2 separate regions of the Homo sapiens genome follow, and region 1 is linked to region 2. The links are contacts of gene promoters, found by promoter capture Hi-C in human tissues and cell types (Jung and others, 2019). All regions are on one chromosome and are shown on one strand. Each heading gives the region's core, a stretch centred on a gene start or on the middle of the fragment in contact. The rest is flanking DNA. Distances are from core to core; before and after follow the strand shown.

Region 1 (5,913 bases), core at 2,591-5,090, 520 kb before region 2:
TATTCCCTACACTTCCAACAGTACCTCATGTAAAGCTGGTTCAGAAAGGAGTTAACACAGAAGGCCAGACTGCTACCCTTAGGGAAGTGGTCTGGGAACTTGGGATTTCCGAGTGTCCCTACCATTTCCTAACTGGTAAGGGTGGTTTACTGGGCCTAAATTGTTTGTGCAAGCAATACGGTTCTTAATGAACACCTGAGCCTGGCGCGGTGGCTGACGCCTGTAATCCCAGCACTTTGAGAGGCCAAGGCGGGCAGATCACAAGGTCAGGAGATCAAGACCATCCTGGCTAACATGGTGAAACTCCGTCTCTACTAAAAAATACAAAAAATTAGCCGGGCATCATGGCGGGCGCCTGTAGTCCCAGCTACTTGGGAGGCTGAGGCAGGAGAATGGCATGAACCCGAGAGGCGGAGCTTGCAGTGAGCCAAGACCAAGCCACTGCACTCCAGCCTGGGCGACAGAGTGAGACTCCGTCTCAAAAAAAAAAAAAAAAAAATGAACACCTGATTTATTTCTGGGAGCTTAGAATTTTGGCAGAGGGTGTCTACATGACCAATCCAATAAAAACTCTGGGCACAGAGTCTTTAATGAGCTTTCCTGGTAGGTTACACATCATACACATCACAACTCAGTGCTAGAGGAATTAAGCGTGTTTGTGGAATAACACTGAGAGAGGACTCGGAAGCTTATACCCAGAGCGCTCCAGTCTGCTGCGGGTACTGCATGCACATCACCCTCTGCTGCTGCTGCTGCTTTGGATCCTTTAGCTGTAATGAATCACTGCCATGACTATGACTACATGATGAGCCCTGTGAGTCATTCTAGGGAATCACCAAACCTGGGAGTGGTCTTGGGGCCCACAACAATAAGTAAATATCATGTGGGTAACTCTCAAATTTATGTCTCCAGAAATCAAGTCTCTACTGAGCTTCAGACTATTTTATCCACCTGCCTATTTGGCATCACTCCTTGGAATATTCACTAGCCACCTCACACTCGGCCTGGCCAAAACAAAACTCGTGATTTCCTCCACCAAATCTTTTCCCCAATCTTCACTTCAGTAAAGGGCACCATCAGTCATTCCTTACATCAAAAACCTAGAAATCGTCTTTGATTTCTCTTTTCACTTACTACCAGCTCCCACTCAACGCCTATAAATCCTATCAGTTTTACACTGGAGAGGTGGGGATCCTCCCACGAAGGAAGCACTCAATAAATGGAAGCTATTAGTATCTTCCCATTGCTTCTGAGTCCTAGGCAATGTCACCTCTAGCCTGCATCACAGCAATATCCTCCAAACTCATGTCCCCGCCCCTCCCTTGGCCTTTACAATCCATCCCTCTACACTAAGCCATTTTTAAAGAGGGATGTTTTAAAAATGTATGTTGGAATATATTGGAATATATCATTCCCCTGGTTAAAACTCTTCAATGACATCCCATGAGAAAAAAATCCTAACTTCCAAGACTTACAGGGTGTATGTGACTGCTGCATGTCCACCTCTCGGACCTCATCTGGATATCACTTTTCCCTTTGTGCACTATATTCTAACCACACCAGCCTTCATTCTGTTTCTCTTAGAAGGCCAAGATGATCTCTGCCTTAAGTTTTTCTTAATAGCTGCTCCCGCTTCGCATGATTACCGCAAATGTCATTTCCTTAGAGGCCTTCCTGAACCACACTACCTGTGAGATCCTACTCTAGAACATCACTCCATTTTACTATGTCCATATTGTCCTGCTCTGAAAGTATCTTGCTCATTTAATTGTCTTTGCCTGCCTTGTTCACTGCTGCTCCCCCCGTGTCTGGATCCATACTTGGCACATAGAAGGCACTCCAATACATGTTGAATGAAAAATGACATGGACAGCTGTCTCCTCACTGGGAAGAAAACAAGGCACTTGTATGAAAAGCAAGTTTGCAGTCTGGTTAATTAAACTGCTATTCAAATCAAATCTATCCTATGAACTTGGCAGCTTTCTCTGACTTGAGAGTTTTTTTTACTGTTTGTTTGTTTTGGGTGTGGAGGTGTCTTTTATCATAAAAATATCCCTCATCAATTTAGTCAACAGTAATGGGTCAACTATCTTTGTTCATCAACTGACCACAGAAAAAGCACACAGAAAGTATATGTTAATTAGGCTACTCCTACTGTGGACGAGCTGCATCACGGTTGAAGCAGAACTGTTGGACTTTCTGTCCCAATAATGGGGTATAAGAAAGGAGATTGGAAACATGGGTATCCTGAATGTAATACCCAAGCAGAATCTTAAAAGAACCAGAATGCAAACAGAAAGGAATTCGGGCTATTTTATTGAGAAGGACCAGGTTTATCTTCCTCACACTGCCACTGAATCTGCCAAGACACCTAAAACCTGGCTAGTTTTTAAGGTGTTCCCAAGAAAAAAGGAATTTTTAACCCTGGTGTTGCCCACCCCCTTTTCCACCCCTTTCTATTTACTTTTTGGTTTCAGGACAGCTAAAGATTACAGATCGTTTGTCTGTTTGTAATTTAGAGACAGGGTCATGCTCTGTTGCTAAACCTGGAGTGCAGTGGTATGATTATAGCTCACTACAGCTTTGAACTCCTGGGCTCAAGCAATCCCCCTGCCTCAGCCTCCCAAGTAGCTAGGACTACAGGTGCACACCACCATGCCTGGCTAATTTTTAAAAAATTTTTTGTAGACACAGGGTCTCACTATGCTGCCCAGGCTGGAATTTTTTAATAACACTGTTATGTTTACTATCCCTACAAGAAATCATTCCAGCCAACTCCCTAGACCAAATCTCTTCCATAATGAGTTAACATTAATTAACTCATTTAACAAATATTTACTGAACGCCTACTGTGTCAGGGCAGACCATAATGTTGCCCAGCTCCTGGGACACCACTTACATGGAGGCTATATAAATGGTATTCCTTCAAGCTACATAACTCAGCAGCTCTGTGCCAGACACTTTACTAGGTGCCTGGAATATAGGAAAAAACAAATGATCCAATGAATGAGCAAATGTGGAACAGGCATTGTACTACATACTTTTAAACATATTGTCTGTCTTTACCCTCACAACTCTTATGAGGGGGAGTGGTATCCTCCCCCTTTAGCCAGTTAGGAAATTTGGGCTCAAAAAGTTAAGTAACACATCCAAGGTCACTCACATAGTGTCTGAGGCAGAGCTACCATCAATTTCTAAGCAACTGTGAACTAAATCTCATCAAAGCAAGAAAATCTGTCTATTTCAGATAGCTCCTCTAGTAGTCTGTTCTAAGCTTACTCTGTTATGAAGATTCAGTATTTTTTTCAAGTTAATAACACATTTTGCTACTTGCGCCCATGTTGATCAAAAGGTGAGCCAGTTATGTAACTTATCCACAAAAACCATCTTTTTCATCTCTAGAAAGCTAGGTGTCATTTCTTTCTCTTGGATTTCTAATTTTATTCCTTCAAACTTTTCAAATCCTGCAATGAAAGCAGGACTTCATTTCTCATTTAAGGCCTTTCACTATATTTTAGACCTAGTAACAATTTATGTTTAACCTACTAGTCTCCCATTCATGTTTCCCAATTCCTTTTGCAAATATCTGTTTATATATTTACTTATAAACATAATATTCTAATGAACGATAGTTTTTCTTTGCTTTTCCTGGGCACCTAATTTAAGCCCACAGAAAGCTTTTGTTTTTACATGAAGTAAAGTAATTTATAAAACTTTTAATCCAATGTATGCTTTCTATGGTATTAGTTGTATGAGTGCCACTCCTCTCTGCCACAAAACACAACAGCACCAGGCTTAATACAATATAGCCAGAGCAAACACCTACTTTCTACACTAATAATTACTATTATTGCAGTTACAGTAATGCCTACTATTTTTAGTAAACTAGACATCTAGAAATCCAGAAGGAAATAAAAAGGAAGGCATTTGGCAATTAATTTCTTGCTATTAAGTTATGTTACTAAAAGGTTCCCTTACTAGTTAGCTTTGTTTTTTGATCATAAGCTGATGAGACAACTCAACCAAACCAAGGAAAATACCATAACCAAGAAATAAATTCAAAAAATGAAAATGAATATATCTAGAAGAAAGATAATGCTAGGCTGAATCTCTCAAATGTATCAGAATGTTTACATGTCTCGATAGTTCTTGAGGGCTCAACAAAACATAAAACCACAATTCGGCCTCCACAACTCTCTGTAAAGTAGGAAGTTGTCAATTTACAAAGGCTATCACAGAAAAGGAAAGAACAAAAAGGTGGGAAAGGCAATGAATTTAAAAACAAATCCAAAAAACAGACAACATACCTGGCAACATGAGAAAAAGCATCCACAAGGACAGATTCAAATTCTCTAGTGAATTCAGGTCCTTTCCTTTTACTGTTTTGGATGACATCATTCGCTAAATACAGAAAAGTAAGCTTTCTATTTGATTTGGCTGAAAAAAAGAAAAGAAAAGAATTTAACTTACACCAAAGAAATTCTCAATTCACAATTCTTTTGCCCTGGGCTGCTCCTAAAAAAACATTAAGACAAGTATTATCTACCTGGGGGGTCAAGTAGATATGTTTAAAAAGACCACCTAAGGAATAGGTTTGGGAATACCATTTCGGAAAAAAAAAAAAGAAAAAGAAAAAGAATGGGCCATCTTCATTGCTGTGTTGTTTAAACCAGGGTAATTAATTGATAGTAAAAATTAAGATAATCCAAAGAGAATTCCTAAAGGATAAGCAGTCAGTGTTAATGTTGAAACTAGGGCTTTTATTTATTCTACTGCAAAAATGAGCAACTTCTAACTCACTTTTAATTATCAAATATTTCAGAATGAAAGACTGAGTTGGCCGGACGCAGTGGCTCATGCCTGTAATCTCAGCACTCTGGGAGGACGAGGTGGGTGGATCATTTGAGGTCAGGAGTTTGAGACCAGCCTGGCCAACATGGTGAAACCCTACCTCTACTAAAGATACAAAAATTAGCCGGGTGTGATGGTGGGCACCTGTAGTCCCAGCTACTCAGGAGGCTGAGGCAGGAGAATCGCTTGAACCCAGGAGGTGGAGGTTGCAGTGAGCCGAGATTGCACTACTGTACTCCAGCTTGGGCAATAGAGCAAGACTCTGTCTCAAAAAAAAAAAAAAAAGACTGAGTTAGGTTTCAATTTTAAAATGGTTTCGCCGAGCGTGGTGGCTCATGCCTGTCATCCCAGCACTTTTGGAGGCCGAGATGGACGGATCACCTGAGGTCGGGAGTTTGAGACCAGCCTGACCAACGTGGAGAAACCCCGTCTCTACTAAAAATACAAAATTTGCCTGGCGTGGTGGCACATGCCTGTAATCCCAGTTACTCAGGAGGCTGAGGTGGGAGAATCGCTTGAATCCGGGAGGTAGAGGTTGTGGTGAGCCTAGATCATGCTGTTGCACTCCAGCCTGGGCAACAAGAGCAAAACTCCGTCTCAAAAAAAAAAAAAAGGTTTCTTGTAATTTTGCTCCTAAACTGAGAATTTCTCTGATACTCCAATAACCATAATCAATAATATAGAAGAATCTCTAGGTGCACCAATAGATATTAGCTCAAATACAAGTATACATTAACACTACACTCTTATTGAAAATTTACACACGTGTGAAATCTAGATATGCAAAATTAGGGCTTTCACAAAAACCATAATTCTCTCTTATTTATATGAAATGTGGTTATTCCCTATTACTCTATATGGTATCATATATTAAACCATAAAAACCTCGTGCAATATGTCTGAGTTACAGTTGCTTTGGGGAACATTACTGAATTCCCTGGCTTCTATGCACATAATTTCTCAACTATAAAGTTACATCCCTACAATTTTTGGTTCCAATTTTCTTTTAAAAGAAATAAATAAGAACATAATTAGATGTTTCAAAACACAAAGTTTTCTCCA
Region 2 (6,294 bases), core at 174-2,673:
GAACACCTGCGACGAGAAACCCAGGACCCACCCTTAGTGGAGAGCACCCACAGCATGTCTGTGGTGCTGCCGTGCCCACCCCCGCCCCACCCCCTGCCCCGCCCGCCCATCCAGCGTAGGCTGGAGAGGCGGGCGCGGGCGCAGCTTGTCCACGAGTCAGGGCAGCTGGAGCTTTTCCAACTGTGCTGAGAGCTGCATGGCGGCAAGCTGATTGGACCCACAACTTAGGTATACCTCACTTCTCGCAATGGGCTGTGTCCCTGGAGGATTTCGAAAAGCGAATCCTACCCAGTAAATGCAGCATTCCAGGAACACCTTGAAGGAAATATGCGATTCCTTTGGCAAAGGATTCCTTTAGCAGGGAATTCTTCCTGCAAAGGGAGCTTTTAGGGTAAATGATTTTATGGGCAAAGCGCTTTCTTCTGATTTATCTCTTTTTACACCAAGCGCTTTTGCCTCTTTTTTATTTTTTTTATTATTATTTTTTTTTTTGTAAAGCAATTGTCCTTTTTTGGAAGTGCTTTTTTTCCCCTTCTATTTTTCTCTCGAGGGGCTTTTTCCTCTAATTTTTTTCTTTAAAGCGTTTTTGCCCGATCCATTTTTTTCCGTTAGCTCCCTTGTCTAATTTTTTTCTGCAGTGCGTTTTTAATCTAATGCATTTTTTTCTGCCAAGTGCTTTTCTCCGATTTATTTTTCCTGCAATGCGCGTTTTTCTGTTTTCCTGTGAACTACTTTTTCTCTAATTCGTTGTAGGGTTTTTTTTTTTTGCGAAGTAATTTTTATTTTTTCTGAGAAGTGCCTTTTTCTAACTTATTTTTTGTTCCACCCCCGCAAGCGCTATATGTTTTTTTAAATAAAATTTCTCCGCAATGCGCAATTTTTTAAGGTGGAAAATTTTCACTCTGCGAGCTGTAAAGTCTTTCAACACAGTAGTGCCCCGCCTCCCTCCTGGGGTCGAGTCCGGGTGTAGCGGGTTTTTCTTACCGCGTAGGTCGCTAAATGCCTGGGTGATCGTCCGCAGCGGTCGCCCGCCGCGCCCCGAGTCTTTGTTCCCTGGCAGGCGCGGGCGCACTAGGGAGGGTCAGCGCGAGGAGGACGGCGCAGGGAATGGGCAGGGGGCGCGCGGTGCCGGCAGCGGCACTTGGGCAGGCAAGGATCGCGGCAATCGGAATAGGACGGGTCCGGGAAGCGGCAATCGCGACGCAGTCTTGCGGGTTCTAGGGGCGCGAGTTGGGAACCCTCTCCCACCCGAAACCCCGTCAGACTTACCTGCAGCAGCACGCGGAAGATGTACCAGCCGATGATGAGCAGTTCAGCCGAGGCCGCCGCCACTGCCGCCATGGTTCCAAGAATGGTAGGTGGGTGGTCGAGAAAGAGGGTTTGCCGAGATCCGCTGGTCTCGGAGTCCGCTGTTGGGCGCACTGCCGCAGCCGCGGTGGCCGCGCCTTAAGTACCCGCCCGCCACCTAAGTGCGCATGCGCGCCTTGGGGGGTGTTTATGAGGAGGGGTGGCTGGGGGCGCTCCTCATTCGCCAGGAGAGGAAAAAAATAATCCATCTGCTCTTTCCATACCGACCCCCGCCTCCTGAGTTCCATCTTAGCCCCCTTCCAGAAGATTCCGCCGTGCTTGCTTTTGGATTTTGCTTTAAAATGGAGGGGTACCACGACTCTGGGTAGAGTACAGGGCGAGAATGGGGGTGCAGGTCTCTTAGTGTGGCGCCCTTCTCCCCAGTCCCTGGCCTGCAAATTTGAGCTCAGTCTCCGGTGCCACTCCAAAGCCTACCTTGGGGATGGATGGAAAACCGAAATTAGGGAGGGGTCATCTGCCCCATAGAGCAAAAAACGTGGTGCCCCTTTCAGAAGCTTTGGCATAATAGGCCCGTGCTCGGCGCTCTTTTCCTGATACTGAATGAGTTTTAAGCCCAGGTCCTCTGCTTCATGAGGGTGCCTGAGCGCGTAACCCGTCTGATTCTTTACATCTCTCTTACGGTAGCGAGGAGATGAGAATCTGCGGTGGAGGTCGCTACTGTAGGGAGCTGAGCCAGAGCACTGCGCTTTGGGCGCAAAAGCAGTAGTCACCCGGTATCTGTAGGAGGGATACAGGAAGGATTGGCGCCCTTCGTATGCACGGAAGGAATGAGCTCTACGGAGAAGTGGTTGGAATATGCTTGGGGATAGTTTTCTGCTGGACAGGTCGTTTCGACCTCAGTCTTCCGCTCCCCTCCCCCAAGCCCTGGTAGGTCGGCCTTAGCCAGTGGGGTTCTTTGTACCCGTTGCGCTGTGCGGCTGGATCACCGAACGGGGTTACGCTACCGCTACCGGAGGGTTGTGGCTACCGCAGCCCCGTTTCCAAGTGAGGCGGGTCCCTTTTAGACCGCCAGTCTTGTGGGTCCCTCGCACAGCGCGGATTTTCGGGCGGGAAGACCGGAATGCGGTTTGTGAGTGTGGTCCCCGCGCACCGGTAGCCAGCCGAAAGCACCTCTTTCCAGCAAGCTGCCTGGCCCAGGGACCAACTGGCATTTGCCCCTATGTGGATAGAAAATTAATTTTCATTAAAAGCTCCCAGAGGTCAGGTTCTATACAGTGCCAGCAGCAGATGGAGGTGTAATGATCCAAACGAGTTCAGTTTGGACAAAGTAGCATAGTGACTTTTTTTCTACATTGACTTTCGGAGAAGTTGGCAGATTCTGGCAAAGTGACGCTGGGCTGTTTGAAAAAGGCAAGCTTAGCCTAGGCTGCCATCTTAAAATATTTCGAGGCTGTAGCTGCCTCAGGATCCTTTGCCTGTGGTCTGGTGGCCGGCAGTGCCCCGCTAACAGCTTTAACTCTGCACTTAGTGCCTGAGCACCTATGGCTGTGAGAGATGCTAGATACAGAACCCTGTCCTTACCACGTGGGGGCACAGCAGGGAGCCCTTGGTCGTCCTTTGGCAACCACTGGGCGGTATTGTGAGGTCTGGGCCCCTTGAGGACGGGCTGCAGCCCCAGGAGGCGATACATGATCTCTGCTGGGCAGGGCCCAGGCAAAGCCAGCCCACTGTGTGAAACCGTGCCAAAGAGCCCTCTCCCCGATCCCCCAGGAGAAGCCCCGGGGAGACATCCCAGGAAGCTTCCCGAATTAGTGACTTGGAGAGGAGTAGAACTTTCACGGGTGGGCAGGGAGGAAAGGGCATTTCACATTTGCTGTTGTTAACCATGATCCATTTTCCCAAATAAGTATACATTCTGTTCCTGTTTTTTTTTTTTTTTTCTTTTTTTTTTTTTTTTTTTGTCTGTCTGTCTGTTCTTTGTCTGTTTGTCTGTTGTGTTGACTTTTCTCTTCAGGATCCCTGCTGCCTTGGTGATCCCGGGCTGACAGCCAGAGAGCACAGCGGCTCAGCTCCTGGAGAGTGAGGGTTGAAGAAAGCGGAGGGCAGCCGCCTGCGCCCGCTGGCTCCCATTAGGTCGGTTCCTGCAGCGGTGCCCGGCAGCCTTGGTGAAGGCCCTGCCCGGCAGAGATCATGTATTGCCTCCAGTGGCTGCTGCCCGTCCTCCTCATCCCCAAGCCCCTCAACCCCGCCCTGTGGTTCAGCCACTCCATGTTCATGGGCTTCTACCTGCTCAGCTTCCTCCTGGAACGGAAGCCTTGCACAATTTGTGCCTTGGTTTTCCTGGCAGCCCTGTTCCTTATCTGCTATAGCTGCTGGGGAAACTGTTTCCTGTACCACTGCTCCGATTCCCCGCTTCCAGAATCGGCGCATGATCCCGGCGTTGTGGGCACCTAACGGCCTGCCCTGTTAGCTTTCCAAGGAAGCAGAAGACGGGAGGGGAGGCATTGACATAGGTCATAAAGCATTGGAGTTTCAAATCCCGCAGCCTCGCGGGTGTCACATTCCTGACGGCGCCTTTTTGGCCTGTGATGTTTTATCCTTACAATGTGAATAATGGCACTGACCGGTGCTTTTATTGTAAAGTCCTATAGTCGTGGGTGGTCTTGTGGTTGTGTGTGTTCTGTCCCCATCTAGGTCCTGGCTGGCCGCATGACCACCCCTCTCGCCTCATTACTGTGAGGAGTCTGGGTCCATCCTGGTCAGCTGCCCCAATGTGACCTGGGGCAGATAAAATGCCAGTCTCATTGTCACCTCTGTGACCCCTCCTTGTCAGGGTCTCCTTCCTTCCCAGAATGTTACTGACTCCTCAGTCCCTCTTCTGGTTTCCCTTTATTTCTCTTCTACCCTTTTCCTTTTTTGGGGAGTACCTGTCCAAGACAGGGCTCATTTTTGCACTTATCTCGAATTTGAAGAGATTGCTGACGCCCGAGAGCCTCGCTTTTTCATCCTTCTTTCCTTGTTCAGCAGGCTAGACAGAAACATGTCTTGACTGTTAGTTGTCCACAAATCTTCAGTATTTTCTCCACTTCATTTTTAAGAAAGGAAGCAACAGATAGATGTTGCTCTTTCACCTGGGTGTCTGGGCTCAAGCTTTCCCGCCCAGCCTCACTTCCTTTGCCCTTCCTCCTGCCTTTCTCAACTGTCCCAAGGAGGGGGCCTCATTGTGTCTCCCGTGCATGCTCTGCAGCATTGAAGTATGGTGTGTTCACGTAGTTCTAGCAGTCCCCAGCTGAGTGAGTGGGAGAGTACCTGTGTGTTTCGTAACGGCCTTGATCCCCTTGATAGATGTTTGGATATTTTTTGGTGTGCCCTGTGTGTGTGTGTGTACAAATACATGTGTATATTCCTTTTAAAGAAGCTTTATCGAACGTGGTCTGATTTTGAGGTTTAGCAATAGCTAGCTATATATGGTAGGTGCCGCTACAGTTTTTATTTAGCATGGGGATTGCAGAGTGACCAGCACACTGGACTCCGAGGTGGTTCAGACAAGACAGAGGGGAGCAGTGGCCATCATCCTCCCGCCAGGAGCTTCTTCGTTCCTGCGCATATAGACTGTACATTATGAAGAATACCCAGGAAGACTTTGTGACTGTCACTTGCTGCTTTTTCTGCGCTTCAGTAACAAGTGTTGGCAAACGAGACTTTCTCCTGGCCCCTGCCTGCTGGAGATCAGCATGCCTGTCCTTTCAGTCTGATCCATCCATCTCTCTCTTGCCTGAGGGGAAAGAGAGATGGGCCAGGCAGAGAACAGAACTGGAGGCAGTCCATCTAGGGAATGGGACTGTGAGGCCATACTTGTGAAACGTCTGGACTGCTATTCTAGAGCTTTTATTTGGTGTGTTCGTTGCACAGCTGTTTGAAATGTTTAATAAAGCTTTATAAACTTTACTTTGTGGTTTTATGTGGCTGCAGTCCATTTGGGTCGTGGTGTTGGATTTCGGAGTTGGTGGGGGGCAGGGGGAAGCATGGAGGGGCTGAGTCTTTGGCGCCAGAGTACCTTAGCCTGAAAATTTGATCTGCTTTCTGGAGAGCAGATGGTGGGGATGGGGGAGGGGGAGCAGGGGGCAGGACAGGCGGTGAACAGGAGGGAGTCTGAAAGTTTTCAGAGATGAGACATTTGCGTTTCTCAGCTCCCATGGCTTCTTGCCTGAAATTGTTTCCCTCCATAGGAGATTTGAGTAACCGATCCCTTGACAAACAACTTAAGACAGCTGGAGCTCTAATCATCAAGGATTTTTATGGTGCTGCTTTTGAAGTAAAAATAGTGAAACCCCTTATGGCATTTCAAGTGGAAAAATAAATAAGACTGGCTGTCCAACCAGCCGGATGTAAGGTGATGGCTGGAAGTGCCGAGAGTGGTGTGGTTCCATGTTGTAGGTATGCACGTGCTCCCATGGCCATGACCTTTGAGACAGTGTAGGCTAGTTTGTCAGGTCCTGTGCTGAGTATTCACCTCTGAATCTCCTTCTTCTAGAAAGCATGGTAGGAATACTGCCTGTCCAAGGCACAGGGCTGTCGTGAGGTTTTATTGAGTCACAGTCGTGAAGGGCTTTGGTAATTTCATAGAAGATCACCTGTTCTACCTAGGCTTTAAATTTGTTGCTATAAAATTGAGTATGGTTTTCTCCTGTTCACTTAAGTCTCCCCATTGTCACTTTATTCCTTTTTTCATTCAAAACTTGCCAAAGATTTGTCTATTTTAGAGGTATTTTCAAAGAACCAAACTTTTATCGATCATATCTGCTGGGTAATTTTCTTACCTGATTCTTTTATGCTTTTATCTCTGAATTCTTCTTTTCTGTGTTTCTGGATAGATTTCGTGGTTCTGCAAAGTCTTGACAAGCTGAGGAGTCATACCTGGAAAGGATGGTTTGTTCAACAAACATTGAGACCCTGTACTAGGCTTGCTGGGGATTTCAGGGGCAA

What was found. The method cuts DNA at HindIII sites, captures the fragments that hold promoters and counts their contacts. A contact is called where the count stands out against the background at its distance.
Region 1: a contact is called between a fragment that was not itself captured here and the fragment with the promoter of NNAT in region 2, in 2 of the 25 tissues and cell types used here (bladder and dorsolateral prefrontal cortex).

Annotation. Positions count from the first base shown.
Region 1 is chr20:38,038,959-38,044,871 of GRCh38, reverse strand. It overlaps RPRD1B (regulation of nuclear pre-mRNA domain containing 1B), which reads right to left. Exons shown (of 7, transcript NM_021215.4): 2 at 4,308-4,437. Among named protein-coding and RNA genes, the nearest start is that of RPRD1B, 8.2 kb to the right of the region's middle. The HindIII fragment of the contact is 3,717 bases long and covers 1,982-5,698 here.
Region 2 is chr20:37,516,379-37,522,672 of GRCh38, reverse strand. NNAT (neuronatin) reads right to left here and starts at 1,423. Exons shown (of 3, transcript NM_005386.4): 1 at 1,270-1,423; 2 at 235-315; 3 at 1-6. The coding sequence starts at 1,341. BLCAP (BLCAP apoptosis inducing factor) reads left to right here. Exons shown (of 2, transcript NM_006698.4): 2 at 3,323-5,256. The coding sequence starts at 3,499. The coding sequence ends at 3,762. RefSeq lists enhancers at 2,351-3,214, 3,215-4,078. The HindIII fragment of the contact is 18,819 bases long and covers 1-2,293 here.